Linked DNA regions of Homo sapiens: regions 1, 2 and 3 are each linked to region 4. Evidence: promoter capture Hi-C in human tissues and cell types (Jung and others, 2019). All regions are on one chromosome and are shown on one strand. The core of a region is centred on a gene start or on the middle of the fragment in contact, and the rest is flanking DNA. Distances in the headings are between cores, read along the strand shown. Region 1 overlaps ZNF547 (zinc finger protein 547). Region 2 overlaps ZNF805 (zinc finger protein 805). Region 3 overlaps ZNF329 (zinc finger protein 329). Region 4 holds the start of ZNF776 (zinc finger protein 776).

Region 1 (5,593 bases), core at 3,094-5,593, 380 kb after region 4:
GCTGCAGGGGTGGAACTCACGGAGAACCTCTGCTAGGGCACTGCAGGAAGGGAAATGTGGGGTCGGAGCCCCCACACAGACTCCCTACTGGGGTACTACCTAGTGGAGCTATGAGAAGAAGGCCACGTCCTCCAGTCCCCAGAATGGTAGATCCACCAACAGCTTGCAACGTGTGCCTGAAAAAGCCAGAGACACTCAATGCCAGCCCATGAAAGCAGCTGAGGGGGGGTCTGTACCCTGCAAAGCCACAGGGGCAGAGTTGCCCAAGACAGTGGGAGCCCACCTATTGCATCACTGTGCCCTGGATGTGAGAGATGGAGTCAGAGGATATCATTTCAGAGCATTAAGATTTAATGACTGCCTCGCTGGGTTTTGGACTTGCATGGGGCCTGTAGGCTTTGTTTTGGCCCATTTCTTCCATTAGGAATAGGTACATTTATCCAGTGCCTCTATCCCCATTATATCTTAGAAGTAACTAACTTGCTTTTGATTTTACAGGCTCATAGGCAGAAGGGACTTGCCTCATCTCAGATGAGACTTTGGACTTGGACTTTTGGGTTAATGCTAGAGTGAATTAAGAGTTTGGAGGACTGTTAGGAAGGCATGATTGGTGTTGAAATGTGGAAGGGACATAAAATTGGGTGGGGGGGGCCGGGGTGGAATAATATGGTTAGGCTCTCTGTCCCCACCCAAATCTCATCTTGAATTGTAATCCCCATAATCCCCACGTGTCAAGGGTGGGACCAGGTGGACAGAACTGAATCATGGGAACAGTTTCCCCCATGCCGTTCTCATGAAACTGAGTAAATTCTCATGAAATTTGCTGGTTTTATGTGTCTGGCATTTTCCCTGCTTGGACTCATTTGTCTTGCCGCCCTGTGAAGAAGATGCCTAGTTCTCCTTTGCCTTCCGCCATGACTGTAAGTTTCCTGAGGCCTCCCCAGCAATGGGGACCTGTGAGTCAATTAACCTCTTTCCTTTAGAAATTACCCAGTCTTGGGTATTTCCTAATAGCAGAGTGAGAATGAAGTAATACAAACACTAAGGCCAATGAGAAGAAGGCCTGCTGTGCAGAGTTGGACCTGGCAAATACCCATAATGGGAGAGCCCTGATGATGGGTAAGAACACAAGAGAGGGGTACAGTGCAGAGAGGAGGAGGGTCTCCAAGTCACTTCTCTGCAAATGGCTTTCCACAGGCCATGGCTGCTGGTGACTAGTGAGCAGTGTGTAGAAGGCTGTGTCTAAACCCAGAGAGATCTGATTGTGACAGAGGAGATGGTGTTCAGGGACTACTGACAAATACATGCAGACCTCACCTTAAGTACAGGTCATGCAGTGGATGGCACTGCAGAGGGAGCAGTTGAAGAAAATAGGTAACGGCTGGAAGCCAGGGATTAGAAGTCAGAGTAAAAATGACAACGGGGGAAGGAAAAGAAGAGTGAGTTGTGGCAACCAGTCTTCAACTAAACAACAGGGGTCACCAGACAGATTCCTAGTAATATGACCCCAGCTGTGATATTACACCTTTTCCCAACTCCCAGGAACCAGGATCATGTCCCTCTGAGTCTCTACAGCCCTTCAGGGAGTAATATCCACCCTCTTGGGTACCAGGGCCCTCCCCATTGCTTAAGGTGACAGTCTGTGAGACCTGAAAGAGACCAGTCCTAGGGGAAAGACACAGAAAGAGACAAGACAGCACATTCCCAGAGAGATCACCTGATGATATCTCACATTCGATAATCACCAGAACTTCACAGAAGATTTCTACATCCTACACAATCAAGCCAGTGGTTCACCAAATTAGTGATCAGGTCAGTGCCAGAAATTCCAGGAACAAGAAGGGACCAAGAAATATTGGCAAGAGCAAGGGAACAACAGAGCACAGAGGTCTCATGCATTTGAATAGAACACAGGGCCAGTGGGTCTCTATGTCACCTTCAACATTTCTGGATCCTGAGCCCTTTCTTGCAAGCCTCAGAACAGCAGAGGATGGGGCTGCCAGGAAAAAGGAAGCACACAGCACATATTGCAGTCCTGACTCTCATGGAACATATGTCAGGAAACAAGGAAAAGAAGCAGCACCCATGGTCTCACTGTGGGAAACGCAGAGCTGCCTTCAGGTAAAAGGAGACAACACAGCCCAACCCAGGACACTGGGCAAGTGTGAGGGCCTTACCTAGTGAGGACAAAAGGGCCAAATTCTCCAGCATCACATCACGGTACAGCAATCTCTGAGCCTCATCGAGATGCCCCCACTCCTCCTGGGAGAAATATATGGCCACGTCTTCAAAAACCACATGACCCTGCCAAATTGGGAAAGATGAATACATGAGCAGCTTTTCAAACTGTATTTACTTAAGTTCTCTATTTATTTTCTACTTATATTTACCACCCATTAAACACAGGGACAAACTAACAGCTAAATGTGTTTCCATCTCCCCTACCATCCTGGGCACATATTCTTAACCATCTCCATCTCTAACTTTCTCAAACCAAGTCAGTATTTCCCATGCTCTAAATCAACCCAGGGACAGGTACTGCACAACTAGGGACAGTCCCAATAGCCCAGGTGTCCTGGAATTACTAAAACTAGCCAAACTATCCTGACAGCCAGCCCTGCCTTGTTTCCCTTGGAAACCCCAACAGCATCTGTGGACTAAACTAAACTCACTCCAATTTTCCTCCTGATCAAATCTGGTGTTTCACCGTGTGGCCCTGTGTTATGTGGTATGTAACCTCCTTAGGGAAACGTAAGGAATAAATATCTTCTTTCAGTGTCATTGGCCTGTCCCTGGCATCACTCACTCACATCCATAAATTAAAACTCCATGGGGGCCAGGCACAGTGGCTCATGCCTATAATCCCAGCACTTTGGGAGGCTGAGGCGGGCAGATCACCTGAGGTCAGGAGTTCAAGACCAGCCTGGCCAACACAGTGAAATCCCATCTCTACTAAAAATACAAAAATTAGGTGGGCATGGCGGCACATGCCTGTAGTCCTAGCTACTTGGGAGATTGAGGCAGAACTGCTTGAATCCAGGAGGTGCAGGTTGCAGTGAGCCAAGATCATGCCACTGCACTCCAGCCTGGGTGACAACACAGCAAGACTCCATCTAAAAAAAAAAAAACAAAAAACCCCAATGGGTACAATCACTGCTACTTTTCTCTCTCCAGGAACTCATCCCTCTCCCCTACACCTCCTTTCCTTCCTCAATCTCTACACCCTCCCAATGTGGAAGAGAAACCACATCCAGGTGGCATGAGTGACTTTTCTCTCCATATTGACATTGGCCACCGTGTCCAGCACACAGAGGAAACAGATGGAAGATAAGGTAGAAAAGGAATGTGGGCCTCCCGTGGGGGGATCCATCCTCTCCTGCCAGCCAGTTTCCATGGAGTCACCCAGATCTTGCCTCCCAAGACAACCAAACTCAGACTCATCCTCCTCCCTTGAGCTACCAGGGCCAGGGCCTGAGGCCCTCCATTCACACTCCTCCTGCCTGCACATCACTCTTTGGACAGCACTCCAATCCCATCTCTCACACCTCCACTCCAGTCAATTCCACAGACACCTCCCAGCCCACACCACAGGCATTTCCTTCACCTCCTAACAGGCCACTCTGCACACAGAAACCAGGTGGTGCACGGCAAATACGCTCAGCATCCAATTCACTCCCAGTCCTGCCCCAGAACACCAAAGTTCCCTAGCACCGGGGGCAGCCCTAAGCCCTGGGTTGAAGGTTCCCTACATGGCCCTGTTTCTCACTTCACTGTCAGGTGCCCAAACCATGTGAGGACTTCACATACTCTCAGCTGTGTCCTGCCTCATGGACACAGGATTGTAAGTTTCCTGAGGCCTCCGAGTTATGCTTCCTGTTAAGCCTGAAGAACTATGGGCTGGGTGCGGTGGCTCACGCCTGTAATCCCAACACTTTGGGAGGCTGAGGAGGATGGATCACGAGGTCAGGAGATCAAGACCATCCTGGCCAACATGGTGAAAGCCCATCTCTACTAAAAATACAAAAATTAGCTGGGCGTAGTGGGGTGAGTCTGTCGTCCCAGCTATTCAGGAGGCTGAGGCAGAAGAATCGCTTGAACCTGGCAGGGAGAGATTGCAGTGAGCCGAGATTGTGCCACTGCACTCCAGCCTGGGCCACATCTCAAAAAAAAAAAAAAAAAAAAAAAAGAACTGTGAGTCAATTAAACTTCTTTTCTTCATAAAGTACCCAGTCTCAGGTAGTTCTTTGTAGCAATATGAAAACAGACTAATAGAATTCCCATCCTCATCTCATTCCAACTGATGCTTAGCAACTCTCCGACCTCACCCTATTACCCTCCTCAGCAACCCCATCATGTCCACTCTCCTTCAGAAGTCTTTCTCACTCCTATACCCCACCATCTCACATACACTCATCCCCACAAACACTCCATTCCCTCATTTGTCTAGTGACTCCTCCACCACTGCACAGCTACCCAGTAAGAGACCCAGTTCTCATGCCCCATTCCAATTCTCTGTCTTCGAACAGCACTGCCACCATAACCTAGAGATGCTGTCACCTAAACTGAATCCATGGCTTCATCCTGGTCCATACGACAGCCACCATAGTGTGGACGTCTCCAACCTGAACTCCTCCACCAGGAGTCTCTGAGACATCTGTGGCTTGAACAAACACTGACTCCTCACACTCACTCTGAAAATTCCTAATACTGCTGACTTCTCCCATCTTAGCTGATGGAGCATCTATGCTTCCAAACAAAAACCATGGGGCCACTCCTGATTCCCCTTCTATCCCACCCCCCCAGCTGCCTCACTCTCTACATCATAAAATGTGGGCAGCTCCAGTTCAAAACACATCCTGAAGCCACCGCTACTCTTGACAAGTCACCACCAACATCCACCTAGACTGCTGCAGGAACATCCTCTCAGATCTCCCTGCCATTACCCTCACCTCCACAGTCTGTCCTCCACTCAGACGCCAAAGAAAGTTCCTTAAGCTAGGGTCCTATCACTGCCCTCTTCTGCTTCAAATCTTCCCCATCTACCACCTCCCTTAGATTAGAGACCCAGGACCTAGGCTGTCATTCCAGGCCTGATGTTTGTGTGTCTCTAGCCACCTCCCACTCTGCTCCCTATTCCTATCCGATATAACAGACACTTGCAGTTCCCTAAAAATCCAGTTCAGTCTCTCCTCTAAACACTGAAACATTCTTAATCTTGTGCCCATGACACTCTGACAGATGTTACCACGTCAACTGTCAAAAATGGGAGCCACTCCACATAATCCAGGGCCATCCAGGTAAGGTGTCACAGTAAACTTAAAACAATCAAACAAAAATCCCAGACCTAATTTAAGATACTAGAACTGGTGGAATCACTCACTTTTCAGACATAAGAGAGGGAGAAAGACAGAAAGAGAGTCTCTGGACACCACTTTTCTTTACATGGAGGTGCCAAAACCATCTATGAGATAACTGGTAGGTGAAAGGTAGAAAACACTCCACTCACCTGTGCAGGGTTCATTTCTGCCATCGCCAGGGGACCCTGAAGGAAGAGGGAAACCGTGAGAAATGGGCAACGATGGGAAGATCTTAC
Region 2 (5,975 bases), core at 3,476-5,975, 490 kb after region 4:
GGCCCTCAATTAGTTGTGCTTGGCCTTTTTCAGAAGTGTCCAACAATGAGAAAGGCATCTGGAACTATTTTTCTAAAGTCTTGACTACTGACATCACTGGGATCCCACCAACACAGTGGTCCCTTGGATGTCTGGTTCCTAGTAATTCACCTAAACAGTCCCTCCTTGGCATCAATCCATCCTCCAATCCATGGTTCTATACCATGTTGCCTGATGTAGGTACCCAGTACTCTAGAAATTACACGGAAATGTAACTTCCATGTAATGGTTTGAGGTGGCATTTTGAGAGGCCAATTTTATTATTCAGGTATGGTGAGGCCAACAGATCAGGAGATACTGCCATTGAAGAGATGCTTAGCTACACACACTTCCCAAGAAAGGGGCACACACCAGGCAGTGTAGGACCACATGCGGAAGCAGCAGGATCGGAAAAACAGCAGGAGCTGGGGGAAAGCATGGGCAAGAACCTTCACTGTGCTTTTGCAGGTAAGAATGGTCAAGACAAGGTAAGCAAGCTAAGCAGGGTTAGGCTTGGCTTTTTAATTTTATTTTATTTTGAGACAGGCTCTCACTCTTGTCACCTAGGCTGGAGTACAGTGGTACCATCATAGCTCACTGCAGCCTCAACCTCCTGGGCTCATTTAATACTCCCACCTCAGCCTCCCAAGTAGCTGGGAGTACAGGCATACACCACCATGCCTAGCTAATTATTATATCTTTTTGTAGAGATGGGGTCTCACTATGTTGCCCAAGCTGGTCTCAAACTCCTGGACTCAAGTGATCCTCCCACTTCAGCTTCCCAAAGTGCTGAGATTACAGGCCTGAATTTCATTAGGAACTGTCCCTACTTGCTTAATATCTGACCCTGGAGTGGTTATGGCAGGAAGATAGTGGCTCCATGTGTGAGGCCTTGATAAAGGGGGTGGGGGAAGGGAATGGGCACTGAATTGTTTGGTTGCATATCAAAGGCACATACCCAGGGGAGTCCTTTGCTACCACTTAAAATTAGCTAGTCCTGGGATGGGCAGTCTCTCAGGATCAGCAAGGCTCCACTTGCCAAACAGCAGAATAGCCAGTACAGTGGCTCATGCTTGTAATCCCAGCACTTTGGGAGTCTGAGATGGGAAGATTACTTGAGCCCAGGAGTTTGAGGCTGCAGTGAGTTATGATCGCACCACTGCCCTCCAGCCTGGGTGACAGTGAGATCTTCTCTCTCAAAGCCAGCATAATAAAAACATGTGAATACATGGATCTCCAATTTAAGTGAGGCAGAGTGGCTATGAATGTCCTTTCCAGCAGGTAGGAACAAGGACAGAAAGTATAAGCAGGTAGTCTGTCTCCCAGGTCCACACTCTTGACACTACTCCGAAAGAGGCAAAAGAAACTGTCCATTTACAATTTAGCTGAGACCTTCCAATTGTGAGATATGAAACACAAACAGATTTTGCTATGAGCAAAAATAATCCATCTCTTAGCAATCATTAAAAATATTCAATTCTCAAAATTGAAATACATCACTGAGCATTGTGGAGCCTCCCCAACTTTCCACAGTGGAAAGGAAAGGCTATCTGTGGGCCGGAGTCTGAGTACAAAGAGGAGTTACATATACAAGAGACCAGATTTCTCAAGGTCTCTAGCATCATGTCTCTGTAAGGGCCCTCTCAGCTGAAGCCAACTGCTCCCACTTCCTCCAAGTGAAACTCACAGACAGATCCATCAAAGTGACTAAGCCTGCAACAACATATTCTTTAATCTCAAATTATCCACATTTAATGATAAATTATGGCGAACTCCATATTCTTCAACTATCTCTGTTGTAGCCAGAAGCTACAACTTTCAATAGCAAGAACAAAGAGTGGATGAGAAACTGACATACGTGCTAGGGAAAGAACACGGCATTTACCTACCCATCACATCTTTGCCGAAATAAAGGCCAAGAAAGGGTGTATCTGCAAATCAAACCACTTGAAGCCTATCTGTGAAAGATACTAGGCAGAGGCAAGATCCTTTCTCACAAGACTTCCTCTGTTCCCTGTCATCACTGAATTAAATCCTGGCTAGTTTGTTAAGTATTTTCACTGTGACTCTGACTTTTTTTTTTTTTCTTGGTTACAATGGTTTACACGTATATAAGCCTTCATCTCAAAGCTATGGCTTATTTCTGTTATAGAAAATTTTATTTGCTTAATGTTTGTTACAGAAACTTAAGCTAACTCAGCATTTTTCCATTTAAGTTACTGTGAAAAAGAGAACAGAGCAGGCCAGAGACTGCTATTCTTTGATCTTGCAAGGTTCATCCTTGGCTGGAGTCTGTACTTTAGGTTTTGGGAAGTTTCCCATTGTTCCCAGTAATGAGAAGTAGCTCCGTGTGCCTAAATTGTCTTACGCTGAACACCTCCTGTTCTTCTGGAGGTCTACAATTGTGGTATGTGCTAGAAAGCAAGTCCAATATAAACTCTGAGCAATGGGTGCTCAAGACGACTTCCTGGAACACATCTCACGTGTGTTGTTTTAAGTCCCAGATGGAGCTTCAATGAAGCACATCCTGTGTGATTTCATTAAGATTCTCAAAGATTGTGCCTGGTTTCCTCTGGACTTGGGTTTGAGCCTTTTGCTGAGTTTGCTCTGGATTCTTTCGGTGTGGTAAATCATAGCCATTGAGTATGACAAAATGCTGAGTCCTGTGAGTCTTCCTAGCAAATCAAATCTGGAAGGGGTCTTGAGGACTCCAGCATTCATTTATTATGATTTCTAAAATTGTGTACGTAGGTCCATAAAAGTCCATGTAGATTCTCTTCGAGGTCAAGGTACGCCATATATGGTGCCACCTATATGCACAGCTTTGTGGTAAACGCGCTGAGGGAACTGAAAATAATAATAAAAAATACCCTGCTGTGTATGGCCATTTACCAACACACACATATATATTGAGGGTCTACTACGGAACAAAAAGGAATGGGGCAGTGGCCGGACGTGGGAATGATAAAGGAAAAAGAAATGGCCACAATGTGTCTGGTTTGAGTAACATGACAGAAATTAGGGGGATACACTGATGTTCTTCAGGCATCTCAAACACACCTAAAACAACATGCATGCCTTAGCCCTTCTCTACTCCTTCTCCCCACCCCTCCCACATATCCTCAAACCCAGACATTCTCCGTCTTTTCTACAGTCACAATAGCTTATGCAGGCATTAAAGAGTGAGTCTGGTTTATCTCATTTGCTTGAAGGAATGGCCAAGATGTACTGTCAAATAAGAATAGTAGATTATAAATAAATGAGCACAGTTTGACCCATTTTAGTAAAAACAAGTGATGACCAGGAAACAAAGACCCACCTTATGAGAAGCAATAAAGTGGTTAAGGACATGGATTCTGAAGCCAGTGCAGTGGCTTCCAGTCCCCAAACCCAAATTTCATAATTGTGAAATCTTTGACAAATTCCTTAATCTTTCTGTACCTCAGTTTTCTAATCAGTTAAAGGGGGGAAATAACATTATGGAGTTGTCATAAAGGTTAAAAGAGCTGACGCATGTAAAACATTCGAAACAATGTCTGATACACAGTAATAATTTGTGTTCTCTTATGATGATTATGGGTGCATCCCCACGGCCAAGGTCATGGCCACATGATACATGCATATAGGCTCAGTGAGTGCAAATACAGAAAAGGTGTGGAAGGATGACCAGTGGTTAACGACATGAGAAACATCCAACCTGGAGACACAGATTTAGGGAAACACTGTAGATAATTGAGAGTAAAGTGTCTTCAGCGCAAATTAACTCAGTCATGGGGTGAAGGACAAGTTAGAAAACAGCAATGATCATGATGGATGCTGGGAAGTAAAGCTGTTTTACAGATGGAAGAAAGACACAGACCCTAAAAAGGAAAAAAGCCAGGAATTCACAGAAGCCAGGAAAGGACCTTCAAGTCAGAGATTTAGCAGTATGGAGGTCCAAAAAGAGAGTGAGGGGGTCAAAAGGGACCTTTCTGAGACGTGCTTAAGTCAGGCAACGGTGGTGGAAGCCATTTAGTAGTATCTGGGGAGTAAAAGGAAATGTAAAGGGGTGGCGACAGTGCACAGAATAGTTACTCAGGGCATGTGTGTGGAAGAAAGAATAACCAGAGCTTGATAGGCAAGGAAGGGTGAAATAGGTTGGAAACGAGGCTTGAGATCCGACTAAAGCTATACATTATGGGAAAGAAGCTGGTTAATAAGGAGAAGTTAAAGACTAAACAAGAGTATGAAAGACAGAGGACTTAGACAAGTTTGGTTGGGGAAGGGTGTGTGTGTGTCTAATAAAAAAGTGTAAGAGTGATCTTAGAAAAGGAATGACCCCTTCTCCATTGAGGATATAACAAGGCTTACAGAGCTGGAGGATTTTACATACAACCTTCCCGTGGAGTACGTAACTCTGAATGATATGCAGATCACCCTGATATAAGATCTGTTGACAGAAATATTTAAGAAGCCCAATATAAAAGATTACAGGACTTCTACTCCTCCAGATAATTTAGGATTTCTATTCAAATATTGAGACAAACCACCAGAAAACCATGACTCTGGAATTTAGTTTTTTCTGTTTTCTGAGCCCTTTAGTATTATAAACTAAGCAAAGAAATCAAAGATGTACAAAAGAACCAAATGGAGGCCAGGCACAGTGGCTCACACCTGTAATCCCAGCACTTCGGGAGGCCGAGGCAGGTGGATCACCAGATCAGGAAATCGAGACCATCCTGGCTAACACAGTGAAACCCCGTCTCTACTAAAAATACAAAAAATTAGCCGGGCATGGTGGCGGGCACCTGTAGTCCCAGCTACTCGGGAGGCTGAGGCAGGAGAATGGCATGAACCCGGGAGGCAGAGCTTGCAGTGAGCAGAGATCGCGCCACTGCACTCCAGCCTGGGCAACAGAGCAAAGAGTCTGTCTCAAAAAAACAAAACAAAACAAAACAAAACAAATGGAAATTAAACAACTGAAAAATACAAAAACCAAAACGAAAACTCATTGGACAAGCTCAACAGTAGACTGCATATGGCAGAAAAAAAGAATCAGTGAGCTGAAAAAAAGTCAACAGAAATTAACCAATATGAAAAAAAGGGAAAAATAGACCAGAAAAAGGGGGTAAACATGAAAGCACAAGAGACCTCTGAGACAGTAACAAAAGCTCTACCATTCATATCACAGAGAGGAGAAAGAGTAGGGATGAAAAAATATTTCAAGAAATAATGGTTAAAAATTCCCAAATTTGGCAAAGGGCATAAACCGACAAATCAAAAAGCTAAACAAAAACCAAACATGATACACTCAAAAAAATTCCATGTCACACACCTCATAACCAAACTTCTGAACACTACAAAAAAAACAAAACACTTTGAACGCAGGTTGATAAAAATGGCACATTATGAACTAGGGAACAATGGTTCAAATGGCAACAGATTTCTCATCTGAAACCATAGCGGACAGAAGGAACAAACATGTTTCTCAAGTACTAAAAGAACTGCAGACCCTAAATCCTATTATCCCACAAAAATATCCCTCAGGAATGAAGGGAACATAAAGACACTTTTAGAGACACCAGCAGACTGACCCTAGAAAAAAGGTTACACAAGTTCGCCAAACAGAAAGAAAATGTTAATAGAAGGTGGCTTAGAATTTCAAGAAAGAATAGTGGAATGGGTAAAGAGATCAACAAGCAATACTTCCTGTGACTTTTGTAAAATATATTTGACAGTGGAAGCAAAAATTACATTTTCCAACATGGTGCTCAATTTTGAAGAGGAATTACTTTAGACAATTATATTAACAGGCAAGGTGAAGGGACCAAGTAAGGTTTCTATACATCAAAGTGCTAAATTTTTCATACCATTAACTGTAATTATGTTACATATGTACATTATACTACTTAAAGCAACCACTAAAAAATTAATACAAAAATACAAAGAAATATATTTAAAAAACACTACAAATATAT
Region 3 (5,788 bases), core at 427-2,926, 390 kb before region 4:
TCCGCTTCCTGGGTTCAAGTGATTCTCCTGTCTCAGCCTCCCGAGTAGCTAGGACTACAGGCACCTGCCACCATGCCTGGCTAATTTTTATACTTTTAGTAGAGACGAGGTGTCACCTTGTTGATCAGGCTGGTCTCGAATGCCTGACCTCAGGTGATCCACCTGCCTCGGCCTCCCAAAGTGCTGGGATTATAGGTGTGAGCCGCCGTGCCCAGCCTCTGCTGTGATTTTTATTAACACTTTCCTTCTACCTCCCATTGGTTTAGTCCATAGTTCTTTCCCATAAGTTGTAAATTGAACAGTGAGATCACTAGTCTTCGGTCTTCTTTTCTTTTAGTCAATTATAATCAAGTTAATGGTGAGCCCTAAAAGTACAACTACATAAAAAGTCCCATTTTTTACATGTTTAAACTGTTTTTTTTTTTTTTTTATCTGTACTTACAAGGTGTTGAAGGTGGGACTTACTCCTGAATCTTCTTTCTAGTGGTGGAATAAGGTACATATCACTTTGAGTTTATGGCTTGTCCAATGAGTTTACAAGCAGTAGGTTGTTTATTGTTGGAGGATCATCAGTCATACAGTGAAGCCAACAAGACCATTCTGAGGGCACCATGCGTTACCCACATCCCAGAATGTGTTATTGCCATTCATTTCAATGATACATAGAACCCATCAGCGATGGCCTAAAGAAAATCTGTGGGCAGCCTTGGAGACCACCATGGCTGTTGACTTGCTGCCATCTGTAGCTTCAGGACCCACAGTAACTTCATCTTTAGTCCCTTTTTTTTTTTTTTTTTTTTTTTTGGAGACAGTCTTACTCTGTCACCCAGGCTGGAGTGCAGTGATGCGATCATGACTCACTGCAGCCTTGAACTCCTGAACTTCTGGGCTCAAGGGATATTCCTGCCTCAGCTTCCCAACTACCTGGGACTAAAGGCGAGTTACACCACCACACCCAGCTAACTTTTTTTTTCTTTCATAGAGACACAGTCTTACTATGATAATCAGGCTGGTTTCAAACTCCTGGCTTCAAGTGATATCCCTGCCTCAGCCTCTAAAAGTTCTGGGATTACAGGTGTGAGCCACCATGCCTGACCTAGCCTTCTTTTTAAAATATAGGCATTAAAGACCAGCATTTTCAATCTAGGAACTATTAGCTGCATTCTGCATTCTCATTTGCCACATGTTTTGAGATGTGCTGTTTTCATCATTGTGTAGTTGTAGGTGTTTTCCTTTTCTTTTTTTTCTTTTTTTTTTTTGAGATGGAGTCTCGCTCTGTCACCCAGACTGGAGTCAGTGGCATGATCTCGGCTGACTGCAACCTCTGCCTCCCAGGTTCAAGCGATTCTCCTGCCTCAGCCTCCCGAGTAGCTGGGAGTACAGGCATGCGCCACCATGCCTGGCTAATTTTTGTATTTTTAGTAGAGATGGGGTTTCACTATATTGGCCAGGCTGGTCTTGAACTCCTGACCTCGTGATCCACCTGCCTCTGCCCCCTAAAGTGCTGGGATTACAAGGCATGAGCCACCGTGCGTGGCCTGTTCTAGGTGTTTTGTAATTTCTATCAGGTTTTCTCTTTGATCTGTCAATTACTGAGAAACAAGTTTTTATTTTTCCAAATAAATAGGAGTTTGCTTTACTCGCTGTTTTATTATATTTGGTTTTCTTTCTGTTACTGGCTTTTAACTTGCTGCCTCGAAGTCAAGAGGCTGTAGTCTGGGCTTTGTTGAACTTTTTCTTTGACCTAGTCAGTGTTAGCAAATATTCCACTTGTGCTTAGAAAGAAAGCATTTTATTTTAATTTGTACGTAGATTTTCATCCAGCTGTGTGATCAGATTGGGTAACTACATTCTGTCCTGCATAACTCTTTTCCATTCTTCTGCGTTTTCATTTCTAAAAGAGGTTCATTAAAACCTCCCACCTGCCGGGTGCAGTGGCTCATGCCTATAATCCCAGCACTTTGTGGGGCCGAAGCAGGCAGATCACCTGAGGCCAGGAGTGCGAGACCAGCCTGGTCAACATGGTGAAACCTGTCTCTACTAAAAATACAAAAATTAGCTGGCGTAGTGGTGGGCACCTGTAATCCCATCTCGGGAGGCTGAGGCAGGAGAACTGCTTGAACCCGGGAGGTAGAGGTTGCAATGAGCCGAGATCGTGCCACTGCACTCTAGCCTTGGCGACAAGAGTGAGACTCCGTCTCAAAAAAAAAAATTAAATAGATAAAATAAAACCTCCCACTATGGCTGGTTGCAGTGGCATGTGCCTATAGTCCCAGCTACTCATGAAGCTGAGGCAGGAGGATCGCTTGTGCTCTGGAGTTTGAGGCCAGCCTGGGCAACATACTGAGACCCCCATTATAAAAATTAAACAATTACATTAAAACATTTTTTAAAATTTAAATATAATCTGAGCTACTTGATCAGAAAAAAAAACCTCAAAAAACAGATAAATAAAATTTCCCACTATCCTTAGATTTGCTGTTTTCTTCCTACAAACCTAGCTGGCTTTGCTCTGTGTTTTTTTGTTGTTGATTGTTTGTTTGTTTGTTTTTTGAGATGGAGTTTTGCTCTGTTGCCCAGGCTGGAGTTCAGTGGGTCAATCTTGGCTCACTGCAACCTCTGTCTCCCAGATTCAAGCAATTCTTCTGCTTCAGCCTCCTGGAGTAGCTGGGATTACAGGCATGTGCCACCATGCCTCGCTAATTTTTGTGTTTTTGTAGAGACATGGTTTTACCATGTTGGCCAGGCTGGTCTTGAACTCCTGACCTCAAGTGATCCGCCTGCCTCAGCCTACCAAAGTGCTGGGATTACAGGCATGAGCCACCGCGCCCGGCCTGCTCTGTGTTTTGAGGCATGTTGTTACTGTTACATTGCCCTGTGATCCTCACTTGAAATTTTTCTTTGGTTTGTAAAGAGCCACAAAACCCTTCTTTGTTTGGCATTCACCTGTCCCATCCTTTCACTTTTGGCTTTTATGTCCTTTTGCTTTAGGAATACCTGTTACAAACATGTTTTTTAATACAGTCTAATGCAGTCTTTATCTGACCCATCAAGGCCATTTATATTTATTGTAATTGTTGATACCTTACTTTACACTTTGTATTTAGTCTGTCCTTTTTGTGCTGTTTTTTACCCCTTACCAGCTTTCTGGATTGATCGGGTTTTTTGTCTGTTTGTTTTTGTTTTTAATTCTGACCTCCCTCTACAATGTTTTTCAACTTCAGTACTATGGACATTTGGGGCTGGATCATTTTGTGTTGTGGAAGTCCATCCTGTGCATTATAGGATATTTAGCAGCATCCGTGGCTCCTAGGAACATCTGCCCCCTAGTCAGACTGACAACCAAAATCATCTCCAGATATTGCCAAGTATCTTCTGGAAGTAGAAACATCCCTGGTTAAAAACTACTGCTCTGTGGGCTTAGATGTTTTATACTACATTTATTCTTTTAATTCTGACTTGAGCAGGTCTAACATGAATCATGAGAAACTTGAGGACTTCAGAACACTTGATTCTGTTGCCCCATTCCCACCTCATTGGCCACTGTTGTCTAGTATATTAGTCTATCCCATTAATTCCAAGTCGTGATTTCTGCATTTCATGTGGTCAGCATTGGATTTGATTTAAATATACATTCATCAGTTTTTTTTTTTTAAGAGATGACATCTCACTGTGTTGCCCAGACTAGTCATAAATGCCTGGGCTCAAGTGATCCCCCCACCTCGACCTCCCAAAGTGCTGGGATTACAGGTGTGAGTCACCACACCTAGCCCACATTCATCATATTCATCAATTCCTTTGTTTTTCCTTCCTTCGTTCTTGGGGTTTTTTTGAAGAACAACATTTTCTAATTCCTCTGGCTAGTATCCTTGGAAATGAACTCTGCTTTTGCTTTTCTGAATTTTTTTTTTTTTTGAGACAGTCTCACTGTTGTCCAGGCTGGAGTGAATCATAGCTCACCGCAGCCTCAACCCCTGGAGCTCAAGCAATTCTCCTACTTCAGCTTCCCAAGTAGTTGGGACTAACAGGCGCATGCCACCACACCCTGCTAATTTTTGTATCTTTTGTAGGGACGGGGTTTCACCATGTTGCCCAGACTGGTCTCAGACTCTTGGGCTCAAGTGACCCATCCACCTTGGCCTACCAAAGTGTTGAGAGTACAGGTATGAGCCACCACATCCAGCCTCTGAAACAGTCTTTATCTCACCTTTGCTCTTGAACAATAGTGTGACTGATAGATTTTTTCCTTCAGTGCTTTGAAAGTAGCCTTCCGTTACCTTTGGGTTTCCAGTTTTTCTATTAAGTGATCTATTGTAATAATTTTCGTCATTCACTGGTGGTTTCTCTTCTCTCTGCTGGCCTTTAAGACCATCTATTGGCCAGGCGCGGTGGCTCACGCCTGTAATCCCAGCACTCTGGGAGGCTGAGGCGGGCGGATCACGAGGTCAGGAGCTCGAGACCATCCTGGCTAACATAGTGAAACCCTGTCTCTACTAAAAGTACAAAAAATTAGCTGGGCGTGGTGGCAGACACCTGTAGTCCCAGCTACTGGGGAGGCTGAGGCAGGAGAATGGCGTGAACCTGGGAGGCGGAGCTTGCTGTGAGCTGAGATCGCACCACTGCACTCCAGCCTGGGTGACAGTGCAAGACTCTGTCTCAAAAAAAAAGAAAAAAGAAAAAGACCATCTATCTACGTAGGTATGGATTGATGTTCGTTTATCCAGCTTTCTGACTCTGAGATACCTACCAGTGGAACTGCTGGGTGGTAGAATATACCTAATTTATGTTTTCTTTTTTTTTTTTTTTTTTCAGACGGAGTCTCGCTCTGTCCCCCAGGCTGGAGTGCAATGGTATAATCTTGTCTCACTGCAACCTCTGCCTCCTAGGCTCAAGCGATTCTCCTACCTCAGCCTCCCGAGTAGCTGGGATTACATGCATGCGCCACCGCGTCCAGCTAATTTTTGTATTTTTAGTAGAGACATAGTTGCCCAGGCTGGTCTTGAACTCCTGACCTTAGGTGATCCACCTGCCTCAGCCTCCCAAAGTGCTGGGATTACAGGCGTGAGCCACTGTGCCTGGCTTAATTTTTGTATTTTTAGTGGAGGTGGGGTTTCACCATGTTAGTCAGGCTGGTCTCGAACTCCTGAGCTCAGGTGATCCACCCACCTCAGCCTCCCAAACTGCTGGAATTATAGGCGTGAGCCACCGCGCCTGCCCCCAGTTTATGTTTTCACAGCTGCCACTAAGGTACCCTGCCAAGCACGCTGACCACTTTCCAAGCCCTCTTCCCTTGTGACCTACCAAAGCTTTATATTATTGTACTTCATTTTATTTTTACTCACGTGAAATGTGTATATTTTGTGTTCTTAAAGTCGCAGTTTGGAATTGCCTGAATGATAGAATGAGAAAATAAATATTGATGTTTTCAGGACATTTCTTTTTTTTCTTTCTTTTTTTTTTTTTTTTGAGGCAGAGTCTCGCCCTGTTGCCCAGGCTGGAGTGCAGTGGCGCTATCGCGGCTCACTGCAAGCTCTGCCTCCCGGGTTCATGCCATTCTCCTGCCTCAGCCTCCCAAGTAGCTGGGACTACAGGCGCCCGCCACCACGCCTGGCTAATTTTTTGTATTTTTAATAGAGACGGGGTTTCACCGTGTCAGCCAGGATGGTCTCGATCTCCTGACCTTGTGGTCCACCTGCCTCAGCCTCCCAAAGTGCTGGGATTACAGGCGTGACCCACTGCTCCCAGCCAATGTTTTCAGGACATTTCTATTTTCCCTTCACGAAGTGCT
Region 4 (5,706 bases), core at 2,701-5,200:
GAAACCACAAACACTCCATATGCTCATCCACTTATCCACCCTTGCCCTTCCTCCTCCCAAGGTCCTAAACTACAAGGAGAAACTAGGCCCACTGGTGTCACTATCTTCTCATGGGCTCACTGGTCATGGTGTACAGCCATCAGCCACAAGAAGTGGGTGAAACAATAGATTTCTATGTTTTGGTGCTGATATAAAGCGGTCCATAACTTCCTGATAGCCAATGCCCCTGGTAGAGATGAAGTCATGTAAATCCCAATGCAGCATCCTCAGTCTATCAGACATACTCCTTCTCTAAATACACATCATTCCTTTTTTTTGCTTTTTTTTTTTTTGAGATAGGGTTTCACTCCTGTTGCCCAGGCTGGAGTGCAATGACATAATCTCAGCTCTCTGCAACCTCTGTCTACTGGGCTCGAGTAATTCTCTGGCCTTAGCCTCCCGAGTAGATGGGATACAGGTGCATGCCACCGTGCCGGCTAATTTTTTTTTTTTTTTGTATTTTTGGTAGAGAGAAGGTTTCACTATGTTGCCCAGGTTAGTCTCGAAATCCTGAGCTCAAGTGATTCACCCACCTCAGCCTCCCAATGTGCTGGGATTACAGGCATGAGCCACTGTGCTAGGCCAAAATACACATCATTCTTTAGACTGCACAGACACATGCCCATGGCCACCCCCACTAAACTGCCTCCCACATTGGCCTCTGCCTCCCCACAAGTTAAAGTATGTTTATACCCTCTTCTTCCTTCTACCAGTAAGGGTGAGATTTTCACCTTACAGTTATATTAATGACCAAACACATGACATCAAACACTAGACAGGTGCTATAAATATGTTTAAAAATCAAATACACTCAAAGTCTAGAAGAGGACATCCCTCATCATGAAGGACCACATAGGGGTTGCACTATGGATAAGAGTGCATAACCAGAAACTATGATATGCAAGCTTTTAAAATGAAGAGGGTGTGATGACCCCCGAATCCCTTAGGAGGATGCAACTGGCTTGTTTGAATAACACTGTGGGTAAGGATAAAATTGAAACTCACTACAAAGTATAATAACCAGGAATTCTGCCTGGTCTCCCTAATAAAAGGATTATTAGGCCATGCTGATTATTATCTAAAAGAGCCTAGTGGGAAGGGAATTGGTTCTCAGGTCATTTGAGGTCATACCAATATCACTAGATGTCAAGGTGACACATCATATTGGGCCTCCATTTTTGGCTTTATACCACAATATGGCTGACAGCATCCAATATGCTTCACATATTCAAACAGGATCCAATAATAACACAAAATGACCATGGTTCCCATTAGCAGTGGTAGTCCCTAATAATTCTATGAATGCCTCCTTGCATTACTCCACATCCATGCAAAACCACATGTAACTTCAGATATCCATGGTCTTATTCCACTTCTGTGCTACAATGGCTTACCCTTCAGCAACACGGACCAACTTCCATTCACCTAATACCATTGCCATTTAAAGAGCAGTCCTGGATGGGCATGGTGGTTCACACCTGTAATCCTAGCACTTTGGGAGGCTGAGGCAGGTGGATCATGAGGTCAGGAGTTCGAGACCAGCCTGGCCAATATGGTGAAATCACATCTCTACTAAAAATACAAAAAAAAATTAGTGGGGCGTGGTGGCACGCAACTGTATTCTCAGCTACCGGGAGGCTGAGGCAGGAGAATCACTTGAACCTGGGAGGTGGAGGTTGTAATGAGCCAAGATTGCGCCACTATACACCAGTACACCAGCCTGGGCGACAGAGTGAGACACCGTCTCAAAAAAAAAAAAAGTCCTGTTTTTAATCCATTTAAGGCCCAAGACCTACTGTCACAGATGACCATATTTCTCCCTGAGCATATTCAGCACGTGTAATGAAACCCCCCACACACTACCAAAGTCATCTCAAATCTTGATTGCACAGAGTGGTGAATAAGTACCACTCTGGCCTAAGTGTCATCTTCCCTCAATTTGACTACACTTCTGCATATATCTATTTCATGTCTATTCTCTCCTTGAAAGTCTATGTCCCCTGTCAAATTATGCTGACAGGTATACCCTACCATCATGGTCACTTACCTACCTCTCCAGTGTTTAGGAAGCCCAGTAACATTACCCAGGGACCCAAGCAACAGATGCAGTCCTCATCATTCAACCACTGCTTTCTGGTCCCCTAAAAGATTTACCACCAGAATCTGAAGTGTGTTCTCCTTAATGTGACCCATGGCTCACTCACCATAGCATACACATTAGCTACCATATATTAGATGTCTCCAGTGTCAATCCCTTTCCAGATACCCCAACCTGCATGTCCATAGCCATTTGATGCCTACACTTATTCGTCTCTGACTCTTCATATGGCCATAACAGTCATCCTGATATTTGCATAATATTCTAATTATGTTTATTACCAACATGCTCATCTCAGCTGATGCAGCTTCCATAGCTACAGCTACTAAGACCAAAAACCTCGGGATCCTGATTGCTCTCTTCATGCCCTTACTTTGTGTATTAGGAAACCTAGATGCTGTAACAAAATATCAACTTTGAATCCAGCCACATCTCCTTAGCCATGAATCTTAGTCTGTTAACCCTCACTTGGATTACGGCAAAAGCCTCAACTCTCATCTTATTTCCTCCTCTCTCAACCCCACAGTCTGTTCTCCACTGTACAGCCAGAGGAGACTACAGCCAGATGAAACTGTGGCAACATCACCTCCTCCCTCTGGTCAGTTTCACCTCTAAGCATTTCACATCCTGGTACTAACTCCTGGGTTAACCTTCCAAGTATGTTTATACTGGTTGACAGAAATGGGAATACCTCCATATATCCTGTGTCACAGACTTTGGATCCTGGGTTTAAGGTTCCTCCAGGGTTCCCATATCAAAAAACTTAAAAAAAAAAAAAAAAAGGTACCTAAGAATCCCAGGACATCCCAATCTAAAGAGCATGTGGATAGGAGTTAGGGCCAGTGAGGGAATAACACCCTCCGCTTCCCTGCGGAGGTTCTGCAAGTGCTTCTGCAGCCAGGAGTTCCTGAGAGGAGAGGCACAAGCTACAAGAATGTATCCCTGATGAGATTTGATAAGCTCAGGCCTCCCTGAACTCTTTCTTGGCCCTGTAACTAGGTAAACGCGAGTTGGTTGTCTGAACTGAGCGCCTCAGTACAAAATGTCATCTCTTAGCACCTATCTGATCTGTAGAGGTTGAACAAGAATTCAACCTCCCAGGGCCCAAAAGTCATCCCCTGTGTTCTTTTTCGACTGGACTTTGGGAAACCTTTAAAGCCTGGACATTGATCTTTTCCTTCCTTTGTTGGAAGCTGTCCATGGCTTCCAGCGTTCTCAGGGTGAATACACGGTCCTCAGCCTGCTCTTCCAGGAGGAGCTCTGCCTCACACTTTGCTCCCGACAGGTGCCTGTGGACCCTAGGTTACGATCCTCTCGGCTCAGTTCATCTCCAGGCCTTTGCCTGCACCGCTCCCTGTGCCTGTAGCTCTCCTGAGCGCATCCCGCGGGTGTCAAAAACGGGGGCCCATAGAGAGCGCCTCAGTGTCCCGACGCCGGGTTCAGGGTGTAAAACCTTGAGCAGGCGCCGCTTCCTCTCTGCTTTTGGACTTAGGTAAAGATGAGGTGACCTGAGGGCACGGAAGACGCCACAATTACCTGAGCCGGGGGCCTCAGCGCGGCCGCCGCCATCCGACTGGGTGGGGAAAGCGGGGTCGAAAGGAGGGGGCGAGCAGTGCAGGTACCCGGGCACGGTGGTCCCGATCCCGGCCTTGGTGCGGGTCACGCCTAGCGCCTTTAAGGAGCTGCAGAGCAGCCTCTGTGCAGTCGGGACAACGTCTCGTCTCCACCTTCTGGGTTCAGTCACTTCTACACGACCCAACACTCCGCGGTCTCTCACTGGAAAATACACCCAACACCAATCAAAATGGCCACTAGTAGAGGACGCCGGAAGTCCCACCTTTATACTGTTTCCGCGGAAACGCCTTTATTTTGAGCCCTCATTGGCTCTGACGCGCTGTCATTCGACGCAGAGATTTCTGGGTTATGTAGTTTCCTCAGGTTCCAAGACAGTTCCAAGGCGGTAAAGAAGGCCTTCTCAGAGGCGCTTGATTGCACAGAGTGGTGAATAAACACTACTCTGGCCTAAGTGTCATCTTCCCTCAATTTGACTATACTTCTGCATGTATCTATTTCATGTCTATTTTCTCCTTGAAAGTCTATATCCCCTGTCAAACTATGCTGTCAGGTATACCCTACCATCACGTTCACTTACTTGCAGGAAAGGCCCAGCTCCATCTCAGCGGCCTGTCCTTAAAGTGCATGTCCTTCTAGGGTAGAGGATAGTCTCACCTAGCCTTAGAACCCGTATTGAGATTTTTGGAGATTAGTGTCTGTAACTGATCACTCAAGTATTTGAAAAAATATTATTTTAGATTTTGGGGAACTCGAGCTCTCCGATGCTAAACTTATTATTTAGGATGCCCCCAAAGACTAAAAATCCAAATTATCATAACGTTTTGAACAGTCTTTCAGTCGCAAAATCCCGGTACTGGCAGCAGAGGCTGATAAACATTATTGTGTTATAAATTCACATGAATGCACTCTGAGGCATTAGAGTCAGTTTCTCAGTCTGTCAGGGACAAGAGAGAACTAATCCAGATAGGACAAGACAAGGAAGATAGAGGAGAAATGTTGTGTTCCCTAAAGCAGGAATACATGCTGAATCTCTGTCTGTGATTCCCACAGAAGACAACTCTCCTGCCTATAAAATCAATCATAGTGTCCAGTACATTGAGCAACACTTTTATCCACTTAGTATCCCTCGCTTGAGATTCCAACTTATATTCAATTAATTCTGGATTAATTTATCTAAGATTTATCAATCTTACAGGAAGACCAATGAAAGAAATGCTATTTTGGTAGTGATAAATGGCTGCAGTTTTCAAAGGTGGGGCACGTATGCAGAAGATGCTCTCCACCTGTTGATATTGGTTGTGTCTTAAATCCAGGAGTTCATGTTATTGCTGGGAAGTGGCTATTTTTTTTTTTTTGTATTAGATAAAACAGACTTTATTTATTTCTTTTCTTTTTTTTTTTTTGTGACTATTCTTTATTTCTGTTTCCATGGCAAGGAGTGTTTTGCCTAATAAATTAATGTTATGGATGGGATTACAGGCATGAGCCACCATACCTGGCTAATTTTGTATTTTTAGTAGAGACGGGGTTTCTCCATGTTGGTCAGGCTGGTCTCGAACTCTCAACCTCAGGTGATCCACCTGTCTCGGCCTCCCAAAGTGCTGGGATTAAAGGCATGAGCCACTGTACCCAGCCGCTCAGTTCTTAAAAAACCTATGTCTTCTATGTTCAGGGAGAAGAGGCATTTAGAGCAAGAGCTTACTCATTCTCCATTTCTGCTCAGAAATAAAACTTGCTTGCCTTTTTTTTTTTTTTTCCCAAATTGGGTGTTCTTTTTTTTGTGACCAATACAAAGTAGGGAAAGAACTCAGTTTATTGGTAGTACAACTTAAAAAAAAAAAAGCATGTTTAACATTCCAACTTTCATAGTCCTGTCAACTTTTACTTTATGTTGTAGTCCCAGGACTCTTCTCTCCAGACCATTTTACCCTTTCTTGTGCAGATGTCTTCAGGTTTCCACCCAGGGTTCAGGCCAGGAGACTTTGGCCTTTTTT

What was found. Contacts are between HindIII fragments. The study calls those that stand out against the background at their distance.
Region 1: a contact is called between a fragment that was not itself captured here and the fragment with the promoter of ZNF776 in region 4, in 2 of the 25 tissues and cell types used here (H1 embryonic stem cells and dorsolateral prefrontal cortex).
Region 2: a contact is called between a fragment that was not itself captured here and the fragment with the promoter of ZNF776 in region 4, in 1 of the 25 tissues and cell types used here (hippocampus).
Region 3: a fragment that was not itself captured here is called in contact with the fragment with the promoter of ZNF776 in region 4 in 2 of the 25 tissues and cell types used here (aorta and liver).

What each region holds. Positions count from the first base shown.
Region 1 is chr19:57,368,493-57,374,085 of GRCh38, reverse strand. It overlaps ZNF547 (zinc finger protein 547), which reads right to left. Exons shown (of 4, transcript NM_173631.4): 2 at 5,507-5,542; 3 at 2,178-2,304. The coding sequence starts at 5,530. Among named protein-coding and RNA genes, the nearest start is that of ZNF547, 7.7 kb to the right of the region's middle. The HindIII fragment of the contact is 8,803 bases long and covers 1-5,593 here.
Region 2 is chr19:57,258,480-57,264,454 of GRCh38, reverse strand. It overlaps ZNF805 (zinc finger protein 805), which reads right to left. Exons shown (of 4, transcript NM_001023563.4): 4 at 1,727-5,975. Among named protein-coding and RNA genes, the nearest start is that of ZNF460-AS1, 19 kb to the left of the region's middle. RefSeq lists an enhancer at 713-1,246. The HindIII fragment of the contact is 9,939 bases long and covers 1-5,975 here.
Region 3 is chr19:58,131,701-58,137,488 of GRCh38, reverse strand. The region is part of intron 3 of ZNF329 (zinc finger protein 329); the gene reads left to right. Among named protein-coding and RNA genes, the nearest start is that of ZNF329, 16 kb to the left of the region's middle. The HindIII fragment of the contact is 9,893 bases long and covers 1-5,788 here.
Region 4 is chr19:57,745,059-57,750,764 of GRCh38, reverse strand. It overlaps ZNF776 (zinc finger protein 776), which reads right to left and starts at 3,950. Exons shown (of 3, transcript NM_173632.4): 1 at 3,674-3,950. The coding sequence starts at 3,706. RefSeq lists an enhancer at 3,889-3,938. The HindIII fragment of the contact is 15,716 bases long and covers 1-5,706 here.